Regions from separate parts of the Homo sapiens genome. Here region 2 is linked to region 1. The links are contacts of gene promoters, found by promoter capture Hi-C in human tissues and cell types (Jung and others, 2019). All regions are on one chromosome and are shown on one strand. The core of a region is centred on a gene start or on the middle of the fragment in contact, and the rest is flanking DNA. Distances in the headings are between cores, read along the strand shown. Region 1 holds the start of RGS9 (regulator of G protein signaling 9). Region 2 overlaps LOC105371864 (a long non-coding RNA gene).

Region 1 (7,541 bases), core at 2,755-5,254:
GTGAATCCCAAGGGCGGTGGTGGTACTGGCTGGGATGGTGATCTGGTAATTGCAGAGGGGAATGGGCCATCCCCAGAACAAGAGTCCATGGGTGCTGGAACCACAGGAGGCCACCCACCTGTGTTCATCTGTCCACTGTGTGCCATCAGCTAATTCCCCAGCAAAGCCATGAACAGATGGGCCTTCTGCCTCTTTCTACCACATCTGAAACGAGCCCAGGCATCAGAGGTGGGAAGCAGCATGGCCGGCGGGCATCCCGACCCACAGCTGCATTGAGACTGAGATGGAGGCATGGGTGTGAGAACCTCGGGAATCGCACACGGTCCTTTCTGACCAGTATGGCTCTCCATGGCCCCATGACAGTTGTCATTTCTCAAGAGGTTGGAGCTGCAGGGGCACAGGAGGATCCTGAGTGAACTCTCTTAGTTCAGGGAGAAGGCATTCCACCCATTCCTCTGGCTCACACCAGTGGTCCTTTTTTTTTTTTTAGACAGAGTCTCTCTCTGTCACACAGGCTAGAGTGTAGTGTAGTGGCAAGAACTTGTGAACTCAGTTACTGCAACCTCCACCTCCCGGGTTCAAGCAATTCTCCTGCCTCAGCCTCCCAAGTAGCTGGGATTACAGGTGCTCACCACCACGCCCTGCTAATTTTTATATTTTTAATAGTCAGAGGGTTTTGCCATGTTGGCCAGGCTGGTCTCAAACTCCTGATCTCAGATGATCCACCTACCTTGGCCTCCCAAACTGCTGGGATTACAGGCATGAGCCACTGCAACTGGCCCACCAGTGATCTTCTTAATTTGCAAATCTGCCATATCACTTGCCCATTCCAATTTCTATAGTGGCTCCGTATGAGATAAAACCAAACCTTTAAAAGGTCTTGAAGGCCCATAGGCACCCACTACCTCTGCCTTTCCTTTCCAGCTTCCCACTCCCCTTGCACTTCAAAATCCATCCATTACAGAACATGGCCCCAAACCCACTAGCTTTCCCATGCCTCTGTGCGTAAACTGTTCCCTCTGCCTGAAACATCTTTCCCTTTCTGCCTGGAAACCCTATGTATCCTTCAGGTCTCAGCTCTGTGTCCCTAAGCACACTGAGCCAGGCTTTCCCACAGCCTCCACACTCTGCCCTACGTCATGGGAAAGCTCAGGGCATTGCACCACAACTTGTGACAGACAACGACCACTCCTGTATTTCTTCTTGGTTTCACCACCTAGTGCTGCGTGACTGGCAAGCCGCTTAGCCTCTCTGAGCCTCAGCTTTCTTCTCTGTAAAATGGTGGCCATAACCTCCAGCTAATGAAATAGATGAGATAATGCACATAATGCCCACCCCTCCACACCATCATGGACACCGTGTACTTCATCACATGCATGGAACGAGTGATGAGTGACAGTTGCACCCAGGTCCACATTTTTTTGTTCCAGGCCCTTCTCCAGAAAGCTGAACATCGAATGTAGCTGGTTCTTCATTAAGGATCGCCTGGCATGGGCTCTTGAGACCTGTTCTGCAGACCTTTATTCTGTCTGCTGCTCCAAGGAGCTCTGTGACATGACCAATACATACATAGATATAGAGGATACATAGACAGGGCCCTTGCCAGCACAAGGTCTAGGGAAAGAGCAATGCTGGAGGTGTGGCAAGGTCTGTAGTGCACAGAGAAGGGAGCTGTCCTGCCCAGGGGCATTAGGAGAACCAGCCTTCACAGCCGAGGGGTGACTGAGCTGGGCATGGGAAGAGAAGTGGAGCTTGGCAAGCGAGAGGGGGAGAAAGGACTTTCCCAGCAGACGGACCCTGAGGCATGAAAGGGCACCGGGTTCCTAAAAAGGAAGGAAGTGTTTGAGGCAGGAGCCCAGGGGTGCCTGTGGCTGCTTTGTTGTTTCCCAGAGGGCAGGTGTGGAAGGCAGGCAGGAGGCAAAGCCAGGAAGATGGTGGGAGCGGAATCCTGGGTAACCAGGCTGCTCAGGGGAAGGTTGGACTTTATGCTGGGAATGTGGGAAGCCAGTGGAGCGTTTCAGGTCAAGGAGGTCACCATTGATTTGGGGGAAAAAAACAGTGTGTGTAGGAAAGCTGTCATGGAGGAGGGGAGACCGGGGTGGAAGATGGGGAGCTGGGATGCAGGAGGGGGAGGTTAGGGTAGAGGAGAGGTAAGTTAGGATGGAGGAGGAGAAGGCTGGGGAGGAGGAGGAGGATGGGGTAGAGGAAGGGGAAGACAGGGTGGAGGAAGAGGACCTGGGGTGGAGGAGGGAAAGGTGGGGTGGAGGGGGGAGAGCTGGGGTGGAGGAGGGGAGCTGGAATGGAGGAGGGAGAGGTTAGGGTGGAGGAAGGGAGACTAAGGTGGAGGAGGGAGAGTTTGGGTGGAGGAGGGGATGCTGGGGTGGAGGAGGGGATGCTGGGGTGGAGGAGGGGTGGCTGGGGAGGAGGAGGGAAGCCTGGGGTGGAGGAGAGAAACTAGAGACCAAGACACTAGTCAGAAGACCAAGGTAAGGAGAGGAGAATCTACCAGAGAAGAGTCATGATGGAAAAGAATGCCAGAGATTCAATAAACAAACTGAATTTATCTCTTGACAATTACCCTCTGAGCCCCCAAGCCAGAGCTGTCCTGCCTGGGAGGAGACAGTCCTAGGATAAATCCTGGAAGATGATGTGTGGCTTTGAGATAGCCGACTTAGGCAGTTTCTTCTGCTTTTAGTAACTGGTATCTGCAATACAGGCTCTCAGGGTTCTTTCTGAGTGAGACAACATTCAGCCTGTCTGCTTTACAGATGATACCCACACCTCTGCTACCCGGAAGATGAGCACGAGCATCTTGAAACAGGTGGACCAAATGCGACCGTCTCGGGGTCCCCAGGACTGTCCAGGTTTTAGCATTGAAAGTCCTGGGCAAATCAGGACAGCGGTCACTGACTATACAAATTTGCTGAGCTCCAGGGGCTCAGGGAGAGCTCAGCTTGTCACAAAACATTCAACTAATTCTACTCAACAAGATAAGCCTAAGAAGATGGACACTACGCTGTGAAAAGTGGCTACGGGTGGGAGGAAGGACAAAGATGTGACCCGGGACCTAATCCTCTGTAGATCTCATCGGACAGTGATTATACCAGAAGCTCAGAACTAAATGAACCACTTTGTCCCCAAACACATCACCCCACAGGTGCATTCCACCTCCCACATGTCCATCCTGTGTGCACACCCTGTGCCCGGTCACTTTGTCTGGGAAAGCATTCGCAAGGGAAGCGAAAAGGTTGGGACTTCTGCCGCCAGCGCAGACAGCAGGAGATGCACAGATAGACACACTCAAATGAGGGCTCTCAGGGCATTGTAAATGGGGTGGCCCTTTATCCTACAAATCACCCCGTTTTCATGGTCTATGTGTACACACACACACACTTTAAAATAGTGCAGTTTGGGATCAGAAAAAAAAGGCAAAAATGGCAATGTCACATCTGGTCGTCTTACAACAATATCAGCAGGCTGTCTCAAATCTGCCACAGCCTGAACTGAACCTGCCTCTCCCGAGTAACAGGTTGTTTTCACCTCCCGCAGACCATCAGCGCTGGCTTCAGATTCTCCACTACAGGCAGGGCACACGAAAACCTAATTATTATAGCCATCAATATCGACACACACAGCAAAGAAGTCACTTAATAAAATCGAGCAGCACAAATCGACCCAAAGGGGTGCTCTCCACTCCTGCCCCTCTTGTCCTCGGACGCTTCGCAGATGCGGTCCCCCGCCCTCCTCCCAGGGTCCAGGTGAGGGGCCAGGGTTACCTTTTGGAGAAATGCCATCCTCGGCCTGTACTGCTGGCCTTGGTGTCGGATTGTCATCCTGGCCCCTGGATGGATTCACAGCCAGAGCACCAGTGGGAGACAAGAGGAGAAGCCCCCCAAGTTCGAAAGGCAGCCTGGCTCGCCCCAGCCCTGGGCGTCGACGGGGAGGCGGCTGGGCGGGGAGGGCGCGGGCCGGGCCCCCCTGACTCTCACTAGGCGCCGCTGACTTGGAAAGCAGCTGGAATCCGCGCCAGCCAATCCGCGAGCGGCGCCGCGGGCTCATTAGCATGCGCTGCGCGGGCGCCCACCTGCCGCCAGGGGGCGCTATCCGGCCCCCGCCGGGACCCCGCGGAGCAGCAGGTGAGACCCGCAGGGCAGGGCCCCGGGAGGAGAAGGAGGAGGAGGACCTGGCGGGAGGAGGAGGAGGACCTAGCGGGAGGAGGAGGAGGACCTGTCGAGAGCAGCGAGCCTTTTAACTTGGGGCGGAGTTATGCACAGAAGTGACACAAAGAGCCCTCACTAATACAGCGCGGTGGAAAATACGGACTTTCCCATCCCAGCTCTGCCACTAACCAGCCGGCAGCCTTGGGCAAGTTCCTTACAATCTCTAAGAATCAATGTCCTTCACTCAAAAGTAAAAATTGAAAAATGGGATCATAATATCGACCAGAAAAGGTTGCTATACCATTTTAATGAGGAGATGTGTAACACAGTGCTTGGCCCTCAATAAATGCTTAGAAAAAAAAATTAGAGGTGGCGATTTAATGACCCAATAGCAGAGGAATTGCTAAGATGTGGGTTTAAAAAGAGAGAGCAAAGAAGTGAAGAAGGAAGAGAGGAAGGTTGTAGTCCTCACCGGGCTAGCTGTCTGGATGAAGCGAATTATATTTTACTTCTCTGATTCTTAGTGTTTCGGTTAGTTGGTTGTTGGGTTTGTTGTTGTTTAACTTTTTTTTTGAGACAGGGTCTTGCTCTGTCACCCAGGCTGGAGTGCAGTGGCGTAATCATGGCTCATTGCAGCTACAACCTCCCAGGCTCAAACAATCCTCCCACCTCAGCCTCCCCAGTAGCTGGGGCTACAGGCACGTGCCACCACACCCCGCTAATTTTTACAAAAATTGTTTGTGGAGAGGGAGTTTCACAAACTCCTGGGCTCAATCGATCTACCCACCTCGGCCTCCCAAAGTGCTGGAATTACAGGAGTGAGCCACTGCAGCTGGCTGGTTTGCTTGTTTTAATAGACTTTATTTCTTAGAGCAGTTTTAGGTTCACAGCACAATTGAGCGGAAGGTATAGGGACACGTCATATATCCCCTCTCCCCACGCACGCACAGCGTCCCCCATGATCAACATCCTCCACTGGAGTGGCCCATTTGTTACAATTGATGAACCTACCTTGACAGCTCATTATGTTAGCGTTTTCATCTTGAGAAAAATGCAAGGATGAAGCCTCTAAGTTATTATCAAGAGCCTTTCTGCTTTGTTATATAAAGCACTTTCTCTTAAACATACTCGATGGTTATTGAGTGTAGCAGATAAAATGTTTAAGTTGGAAGAAAACAAGAAGGCCTTTACCTTAGGAAGGCACAGTCAACCAATGTCCCTTTAAAGCAGTGGTTCTTGGCTGGGTGTGATGGCTCACGCCTATAATTCCAGCACTTTGGGAGGCCCAAGCGGGTGAATCACTTGAAGTCAGGAGTTCAAGACCAGCCTGGCCAACATGGCAAAACCCTATCTCTATTAAAAATACAGAAATCAATCAGCATGGTGGAGCAACCTGTAATCCCAGCTACTCAGGAGGCTGAGGCACAAGAATCACTTGAACCCAGAGGCTGCAGTGAGCCAAGACTGAGCCACTGCATTCCAGCCTGGGTGACAGAGTGAGACTCTGTCTCAAAAAAAAAAAAAAGCAGTGGTTCTTATCCATTCTCTCGGGTGATATTTACCTGTAAGAATCTGATGAAAGCTATGGACACTCAGGAACACACACACATGCACATGTACACAACACTGACTGAAGTTTGCAAACAATTTCAAGAGGTTCATGCTTGGGCCTCTCTTGTGCCTTTTCAGGAATCCCTGATTCAGAGCCTCCAATTTAGAGGACGCTGGACCCTGCAGAGATCCATCCAAGCAGAAGACCAGAGATCCTGCCAAGCAAATTGAACCACTGAGAAGTATGCTCCTGGTGTGAGCTGAGATCCAAAGAAAATGCTGGAATATCTTGATTTTTTTTCTCATGAAGCATCTTTTGAGCCTGGTGTGAGTTTAAATCCAAAGAAAATGCTGGAATATCTTGATTTTTTTTCTCATGAAGCATCTTTTGAGCCTAGTGTTATACAGAGCACATGCTGGGATCTGACCAAGATGAGCTATGAAGTTCCTTCCAGCTTCAACATCCCTTGTCTCTAGAAACCCTAAGCATCAAGAAGATAAGTGGCTTTCCTAAAATGAAGGATGAGAAAAATTATTCAGGAGCAAAGAGAGGCAAAAATAAAAGGCACTTTGCTCATTAATAGAATAGGAGAGGCCTCAGTGCCTGCCACTCTCCTCCCCACCCCTTCTGTCAGGCCCTGCTCTCCAAGCAACTACATTTTGTGGGACCCATCTTTGCTCATTGGACCAGAGGCCAGTTCCCCACATGATAGGACCATGATGTGGATCTGAAAAACGGAGAGGAGCTTGTTAGATTATTACCTTCACAAATGCCAACTTGAGTCAGATAAAGTCAGGGCCACAGGAAGCTGAGACCAAATGCAAGCTGAAGTTATGAGGAAGGAGAAATGAAAGGTGAGCAGAGGAAGCTGATCAGAAAAGGGAGGCAAACAGGCTGGGCGCGGAGGCTCACGCCTGTAATCCCAGCACTTTGGGGGGCCGAAGCGGGCGGATCACCTGAGGTCAGGAGTTCGAGACCAGCATGGTCAACATGGCGAAACCCCATCTCTACTAAAAATACAAAAAAATTAGCCGGGCATGCTGGCGCATGCCTGTAATCCCAGCTACTCGAGAAGCTGAGGCAGGAGAATCGCTTGAACCTGGGAGGCAGAGGTTGCATTGAGCTGAGATTTGCACTCCAGCCTGGGCAATAGAGCGAGACTCTGTCTCAAAAAATATACATATAAAAGAAAAGAAAAAAAGGGAAGCAACAAGCTGAACAGAGAGCAGCAGAGGGGCCATGACACAGACAAGCCCCTCGGACTAAGTTGGGTCAGTGCCTTACCAAGGGCAAGGGTATCTTCTGGAATCCTCCCACATATCTGAGTCTTTGTTTCTTGCAACTGAAAGAGCCTGTCATATAATATGGTATTCAAAGTTTCATGCCAGTGTCCTAGGGGAAAAAATTGATTTAATTCATCGATTTATTTAATCAACAAACATATTGTTTGCCAGCCATTTTGCTAGAGTCTGGAATTCAAAGCAGAATATGACTCAGTCCTTTCTATGAGAATAAGACCAGAAAAATACAAATATAAAAAAGAAAAAAAGAATATGACCCAGTTCCTGTCTCAAAGAGCTCAGAGTTTAAAGTGGAAAAAGAATATTTAGACAAAAATGTTATAAAATAAAATCTATGTGTGATGAAGATGTAGTCAATGCAATACAGGATTTTGTGGAAAGGCACCTCACCCATCCTGAATGGAAGAGAAGATCAGGAAGGCTTCCTGGAAGAGGAGTCTTAAAAGAAGATAGGAAGTTAACCAGGTGTAGGGGCAAGCTAAGTTTCCTCACAGGGAACAGCACAAGAAAAGGTGCAGAGGCAAGGAT
Region 2 (7,541 bases), core at 2,544-5,043, 55 kb after region 1:
TGGGGTCCCCAAACTGTTCATCCCCCTCTTGAACTTGGCAGCTCCCTCTGCGGCTCTCACACATTAGCCCATCTTCTCAAGCTCCTGACCAAGCCTCCACTCCTCTCATTCTTGGCAGCTGACAATGCATTTGCTAAGCTAAGCAGCTGGCAGCCTTGACTGCTACCTCCCCCACCACAAATGCATCTTCATCTGCCCCTGTTAGAGGGCGATGTATCTCTTTCCTCTTCAAGGCCACCCCCTCCAGTTGTGTGTGCTCTCCTCCTGTCTCCTTTTTGACCTTGCCCATCCCTATTCTTTTGATCTATAAATATGCTAAAGCCATTTCTATCCTTTATTTTTATTTATTTATTTATTTATTTATTTATTTATTTTTGAGACAGAGTCTTGCTCTGTCGCCCAGACTGGAGTGCAGTGGCACAATCTTGGCTCACTGTAACCTCTGCCTGCCGGATTCAAGTAATTCTCCTGCCTCAGCCTCCCGAGTAGCTGGGACTACAGGCGCCTGCCACCACGCCTGGCTAATTTTTGTGTTTTTGGTAGATACAGGGTTTCACCAAGTTGACCAGGCTGCTCTCGAACTCCTGACCTCAGGTGATCCGCCTGCCTCAACCTCCCAAAGTGCTGGGATTACAGGTGTGAGCCACCGTGCCCGGCCACCTTTTCTATCTTTTAAAAAAATGTGGTCCTCCCTTCCCTGCCCTCAGCTATCACTTATATCTGTTTGCTACCACTCTATCTGTTTTCGGCCCTTCTCTGTCCCTTCTGGTGGGTGGTCGTCTCTTGCTCTCCTCCCATCTACTCCCTAATCTGGGGCAATCTGGAATTGGTCCCATCCCTGTTTCATTTAAACTGCTCTCTTCACAAATGTCCTGCCAAATGTCAACTGCAAGAGACACCCTGCATTCCTTTTTTTTTTTTTTTTCCCCAGTCAGGGTCTTACTCTGTCACCCAGGCTGGAGTGGCATGATCACGGCTCACTGCAGCCTCAACCTCCCAGGCTCAGGTGATCCTCCCTCTGCCTCCTGGTTAGCTGAGACTACAGGTGTGTGCCATTCACTCCCAGCTAGTTTGTTGTTGTTGTTGTTGTTGTTTATTTTTTTGTAGAGATCAGGTTTTACCCTGTTGCTCAGGCTGGTCTGGAACTCCTGGGCTCAAGTGATCTGGTCACCTCAGCCTCCCAAAGTGTTGGGATTTGCAGCTCTACAAAAGAGGGCCACTGTGCCTGCTCCCCCTTTTCTGTTCTATCTGCAACATTTTACACTGCTCACCTCTCCCTTCTTGATGGCTCTTCCTGGGTTTCCGGGACATGACTCTATTCTAGTTCTTAGTCTTCATCTGATAGCTGTTTCTTGGTCTTCTTTGCTGGCTCCTCAAGCTGCCCAGTAAATGTGTGTGTTCTGCAAGAGTTCACTCTTTTTTTTTTTTTTTAATACTTTAAGTTCTAGGGTACATGTGCACAACATGCAGGTTTGATACATAGGTATACATGTGCCAAGTTGGTTTGCTGCACCCATCAACTTGTCATTTACATTAGGTATTTCTCCTAATGCTATACCTCCTCCAGCCCCCCACCCCATGACAGGCCCCAGTGTGTGATGTTCCCCACCCTGTGTCCAAGTGTTTTCATTGTTCGATTCCCACCTATGAGTGAGTACAAGCGGTGTTTGGTTTTCTGTCCTTGTGACAGGTTGCTGAGAATGATGGTTTCCAGCTTCATCCATGTCCCTGCAAAGGACATGAAAGAGTTCACTCTTAGTCCATCTGTCTTCTCATTCTTCGTGCTCTTCAAGCTGACCTCACTCATCCCATCATGGTTAACCACCCTTACGTGTTGATGACCTCCAAGTCTCTCCTTTCCAGCCCTACCTACTCTCCAATCTTCTAATCAAGTGCTGTGCAATAGACCTTGCTGTAATAATGAAAATGTTCTATAAATTGGGCTGTCCAATATGGTAGCCACTAGCCACATGTGGCTACTGGGCACTTAAAATGTGGTTAATGGCCAGGCATGGTGACTCACACCTATAATTCCAGCACTTTGGGAGGTTGAAGTGAGAGCCCGGGAGTAGAGACCAGCCTGGGCAACATAGTGAGACCTCATCTCTATATATTAAAAAAAAAGAGAAAGAGAAAAGGAATGTGGCTAGTGTGTTTAAGGAACTGAGTTTTAGATGTTATTTAATTTTAATTTTAATAGCTACAGGGCCGGCTCAAGCCTGTAATCCCAACACTTTGGGAGGCTGAGGCAGGTGGATCACAAAGTCAGGAGTTCGAGACCACCCTGGCCAACCTGGTGAAACCTCATCTGTACTAAAAATACAAAAATTAGCTGGGTGCGGTGGTGGGTGCCTGTGATCCCGGCTACTCAGGAGACTGAGGCAGGAGAATTGCTTGAACCCGGGAGGCAGAGGTTGCAGTGAGCCGAGATTGCATCACTGCATTCCAGCCTGGGAGACAGAACAAGACTCCATCTCAAAGAAAACAAAAAAATTAAAAATTAAAAAAATCAATAGCTACAAGTGGCTAGTGGCTACTGTATTGGACAGTACAGTTGTAGACCTACATTGCCAACTGCCTGGGGACATCTTGATTAGGATGTCTCTCTGGCTCCTCAACAAGTCCCAAACTGAGCTTATTAGCATCACACTCTCCCCTACCTTCGCCTCCATGCCCTTGAGCAAAATGAAAACCTTCTCTTTCTCTTGATTTCTCTTCCTGAGTTGACAGCATCAACACTCATGCCTTTACCCAAACCCTAAACTTCTAGACTTCCAGGCTCTTCCTTTTCACTCATCTTCTATAATTATGTGGTCAATTCTCCCTCCTAAATTTCTTGTAGCTCCATCCTTGCCTTTCCAAACCTTCTCAGAGGCTTGAGTTCAGAATCAAAGCTTCTCTTGTCAGGCTATCACCAATTCCCTACACCCAGCCTCCGCCAAGCCACCAGCAGACCTCTGAGCTGGACAGCTTTCCTTTGCTTCTCCGGATGTCCTCTCCATCTCCACCCTTCCATCCTGATGTCCTAGTAGCTGGTTTCTATAGACCCTGTCACCTGGACTTCTTTGCTCTTGGACTTCCAACTGGGTCAGGAAGACTGGAGGGTGGGAAGAGGTTGGCGCATCTAACCACTGAGCTCCTAGGGTTATTGGTAGCTGCCTTCCTCTACCAAAGCCCATGTCCATGAGGTGGCCACTCCTACAGCTACGGGATTCTGGTTCTCACTCTTTTCACTTGCTGCTTCCAGCCTAGATGCAGTAAGAGTTCCCTGCTGTGGTTCTGCTGGGGCACTGCGCCGCCCTTTGTTGTTTCCCTAATCACGTCTCAATCCCCCCGCGCACCACCCCCCCAACTTTTTTTTTTGAGACAGGATCTCACTCTTGCCCAGGCTAGAGTACAGTTGCACAATCATGGCTCACCGTAGCCTCGACCCCTGGGTTCAAGTGATCCTTCCAACTCAGCCTCCCAAGTAGCTGGGACAACAGGTGTGTACCACAACACCCAGCTGAGTTTTTTTGTTTTTGTTTTTGTTTCTTTTTAATTTTTAGAGATGAGGGTCTCACTATGTTTCCCAGGCTGGTCTTGAACTCCAGGGCTCAAGCAATCCTCCCACCTTGGCCTTCCAAAGTTAGAATTACAGGCATGAACCACCTTGCCCAGCCCTTCTCAAGTCTTTATTCATGGTCCGTTTATTAAACTCTCCTTGGTTGCCCAGATTCAGTGTGTTATCCATTTCTTCTGGGACTTGATTGATATTTCCAAGCCTTGAAATGCCTCCTCGTCACCCACAGGAGACAAATAAAGCCTGTGCTTCTTTGAAGAGCACCTGAAGCCACTTATGATCTGTTTCCTGCTTGCTCTTTCCACTTCATCTCCCACCTCTCCTTCTCTTGCGCTTTATAGTCCTATAATGCCAGATTGCTTATGATGCCCGGAAGGGGCCCTATTGTTTTCCACCTCCATGCCTATGCCTGCCAAACTCTTGCTTAACCTTTAAAACCCTTCTCCAGATGTTGCCTCCTCTGGGAAGTCCCCCAGGCCTTCCTTTCTGCTTCTACTGTATTTTGTTGGTATTTCCATTATTTATGACATCATGATATATTATAATTTCTTGTTTAGGTCTGTATTGTCTTTTCTGCCCATAGAGTGCCTCTTAAGGAAAGGACTAGGCCAGATGTGGTGGCTCACACCTGTAATTCTAGTGCTTTGGGAGGCTGAGGCAGAAGGTTCACTTGAGGCCAGGAGTTCAAGACTAAGCTCAGCAACATAGTGAGATTCCACCTCTACAATAAAATTTAAAAATTAGCTGGGCAGGGTATCACACACCTGCAGTCCCAGCTACTCGAGAAGCTGAGACAGGAGGATCACTTGAGCCCAAGAGGTTGAGGCTACAGGGCTACAGTAAGCCATAATCACACCACTGCACTCTAGCCCAGGTAAGAGAGTGAGATCTTATCTCTTAAAAAAAAAAAAAGTAAGGATATAAATATATATATTTATTTAATAAAATATTTATTGATCCTGGCATTCTAGGTGCTAGATAGCTAGATATATCAGTAGTGACCCCTTTCTACAAGCACTATGAGGGAAGCACTATTGTCCTTATCTTAGAGGACACCCAGAAGGCCGAGGTTGCAGTGATGTGCCAGGTTCAGAAAACTGGCAAGAGGTTTGGATTTGGTGTCAAACCAAGTCCTTCTAGCTGCACAGTTCATACTTTTGGCCACAGTTTTACGTTGCTGCAGGTCTTGCCAAGAATAGTTTTATTGGCCGGGTGCGGTGGCTCATGCCTGTAATCCCAGCACTTTGGGAGGCCGAGGCAGGCGGATCACGAGGTCAGGAGATCGAGGCCATCCTGGCTAACACGGTGAACCAGTCTCTACTAAAAATACAAAAAAATTAGCCGGGCGTGATGGTGGGCGCCTGTAGTCTCAGCTACTCGGGAGGCTGAGGCAGGAGAACGGCGTGAGCCCGGAAGGTGGAGCTTGCAGTGAGCCGAGATCGCGCCTGGGGGACAGAGCGTGACCCCGTTTCAAAAAAAAAAAAAAAAAAAGTTTTATTAAGACTGGTGTTACGGGTTGAATTGTGACCCCCTCCCACACTCACAGAAGGATATGCTGAAGTCCTGACGCCCACTGCTTCAGAATGGGCCTTATTTGGAAGGAAGGTCTTTACAGAAGTAATCAGGTTAAAATGAGGTTCAGGGCTGGGTGCAGCCGCTCAGGCCTGTAATCCCAGCACTTTGGGAGGCTGCGGCAGGAGGATCACTTCAGCCTAGGAGTTTGAGATCAGCCAGGGCAACACTGTGAGACACTATCTCAATTATATTTATAAATATATATACACACATATATGTACATATTGTTACATATTTATTGAATATATATTTATAGTTTAAATATATTTTAATATATGATATTTTTATAATATATAAAATATAAATGTAAATGTTATATATCATGTATTATATATAAATTTAACATTTTTATATAATATAATATAAACATTTATATAAGCTATATATTTATAATATATTAAATATTATATTAATATGACTATAGTTTATTGGATTTATAATATTTATTTTTCATTATATATACATATATAAGAAAAATAAAAATATTATATTAGATTTATAATATTTATTTTTCATTATATATACATATATATAAGAAAAAAAATGAGGTCGGGGGCCCTGATCTAATATGATTAGTGTCCTTGTAAACAAGGGAAATTTGGACACAGAAATACAGAAGGAAGGTGGTGTGAAGATGTGGGGAGGAGACAGCCATGTGAATAGAGAGGGGAGGGCAGTGTGAAGATGCGGAGAGGAGACAGCCATGTGAATAGAGATGTCAAGGATGCTGGCCAGCAACCGAAGCTGGAAGAGACGAGGAAGCGTTCTTAACCCAGAGCCATCGGAGAGAGTACGGCCCTGCTGACGCCTTGCATTTAGACTTCCAGGCTCCAGAACTGGGAGATAGTAAATGTCTGTTGTTTTAAGCCTCTCAGCTTTTGGTTCTTTGTTATGGCAGCCCCAGGAAATGCATACATCTGGGGAGGCTCAAGCCCCTCCTCGCTGGGAAGTGGGGGGGTGTTGGAATACTAACTGGATGTGGAGTCCCCCTGGGGCTCTACTGGGAGTGCCAAGTGGATCCTGGCAGTCACTGAGTAGGCTTCTTTGTGTGATTTTGCTCCAGCATTGACCTGACAACTCAACAATTATTTTTCTTTTTCTTTTTTTCTTAGAGACAGACTCTTGCTATGTTGCCCAGGCTGGTCTTAAATTCCTGGGCTCTTGCTCTGCATATTCTCAGTGCAATAAAAAAAAGAAAAAAAAGTGGCAGTCACCAATTTTATTTTTTGGTGTTTTTTTTTATTTTGTTTTGTTTGTTTGTTTGAAATGGAGTCTCGCTCCGTCACCCAGGCTGGAGTGCAGTGGTGCGATCTCAGCTCACTGCAACCTCTGCCTCCTGGGTTCAAGCAATTCTCCTGCCTCAGCCTCCGGAGTAGCTGGGATTACAGGCTTGCACCACCACGCTCGTCTAATTTTTGTATGTTTATTAGAGAGAGGGTTTCACCATGTTGGCCAAGCCAGTCTTAAACTCCTGACCTCAGGTGATCTGCCTGGCTCGGCCTCCCAAAGTGCTGGGATTACAGGCCTGGGCCACCGTGCCTGGCTGTAGTCACTGATTTTAAATTACGCTTCCAACTGCCTCTGGTGACCCCATAAGTCTGTGACATGCAGTAATTTGTAAACCTGAGCCCCCCCGCCCCAAGAAAGTGATCCTCAGCATGCTCAAATCCCCAGCTCCCAGCTCAGGGCCTAACACCCCACAGGCTTCCAGTGCTGGGCATTGAGTCACTAAATCCTGCTCAACTAAGGCACCAGGAGTCCGTGGAGTGCTTGCGATCTCGAAGGGTGTCAAGGAGACTGGTAGAGCTATTGTGCCCATTCCCACAGGCCAGCCCCCAGGACATATTCCAGTCTCATGCCATGGTCAAAACAAACAAGTCAAGTTTCAGGATGCTCTAGTGGGTTCTACTGACTCTTTCCCAGGGTGACTCACTGCTGCAGGGAGAGAAGCGGGCTGGGACTCAAGTGCCTGTGCTTTCTTTTTCTTTCTTCTGTCTTTCCAGGAAGCCCTTGGAACAGGATGTAAAAGCAGCACTTTCCATCCAGCCTGACATCCTGCTTCCAGATGCAGAAGGCTGAGCAGGCCACCAGGATCACATTTAAATGGCTGTGGCCATGATGTTCCAATTTGAAACCTGGACTCCACCAACTTCCATACTCATCCCTTGCTCTCAGCCCTCTCCCTCCCCTGTCCAGGTCCTCAGGATGATCTGAGAAATATGTTACACTTTTCTTCCTCGCTAGATGTCAACACGTTGGAAGGCAGGGACCTTGCCATATTAATCCTTAGGGCCTTGGGTTCTGCTGTAGTAAAGACTCAAAAAATGTTGGGTAAAATTAATTTTAAAAACAACTGGTGGCCGGGTGCGGTGGCTCACGCCTATGATCCCAGCACTTTGGGAGG

The links. Contacts are between HindIII fragments. The study calls those that stand out against the background at their distance.
Region 2: a fragment that was not itself captured here is called in contact with the fragment with the promoter of RGS9 in region 1 in 1 of the 25 tissues and cell types used here (IMR-90 fibroblasts).

What each region holds. Positions count from the first base shown.
Region 1 is chr17:65,133,833-65,141,373 of GRCh38, reverse strand. RGS9 (regulator of G protein signaling 9) reads right to left here and starts at 4,004. Exons shown (of 19, transcript NM_003835.4): 1 at 3,777-4,004. The coding sequence starts at 3,833. RefSeq lists a silencer at 3,815-4,314. The HindIII fragment of the contact is 16,688 bases long and covers 1-7,541 here.
Region 2 is chr17:65,078,155-65,085,695 of GRCh38, reverse strand. It overlaps LOC105371864 (a long non-coding RNA gene), which reads left to right. Exons shown (of 3, transcript XR_934923.2): 3 at 7,141-7,541. Among named protein-coding and RNA genes, the nearest start is that of GNA13, 25 kb to the right of the region's middle. The HindIII fragment of the contact is 8,211 bases long and covers 1-7,541 here.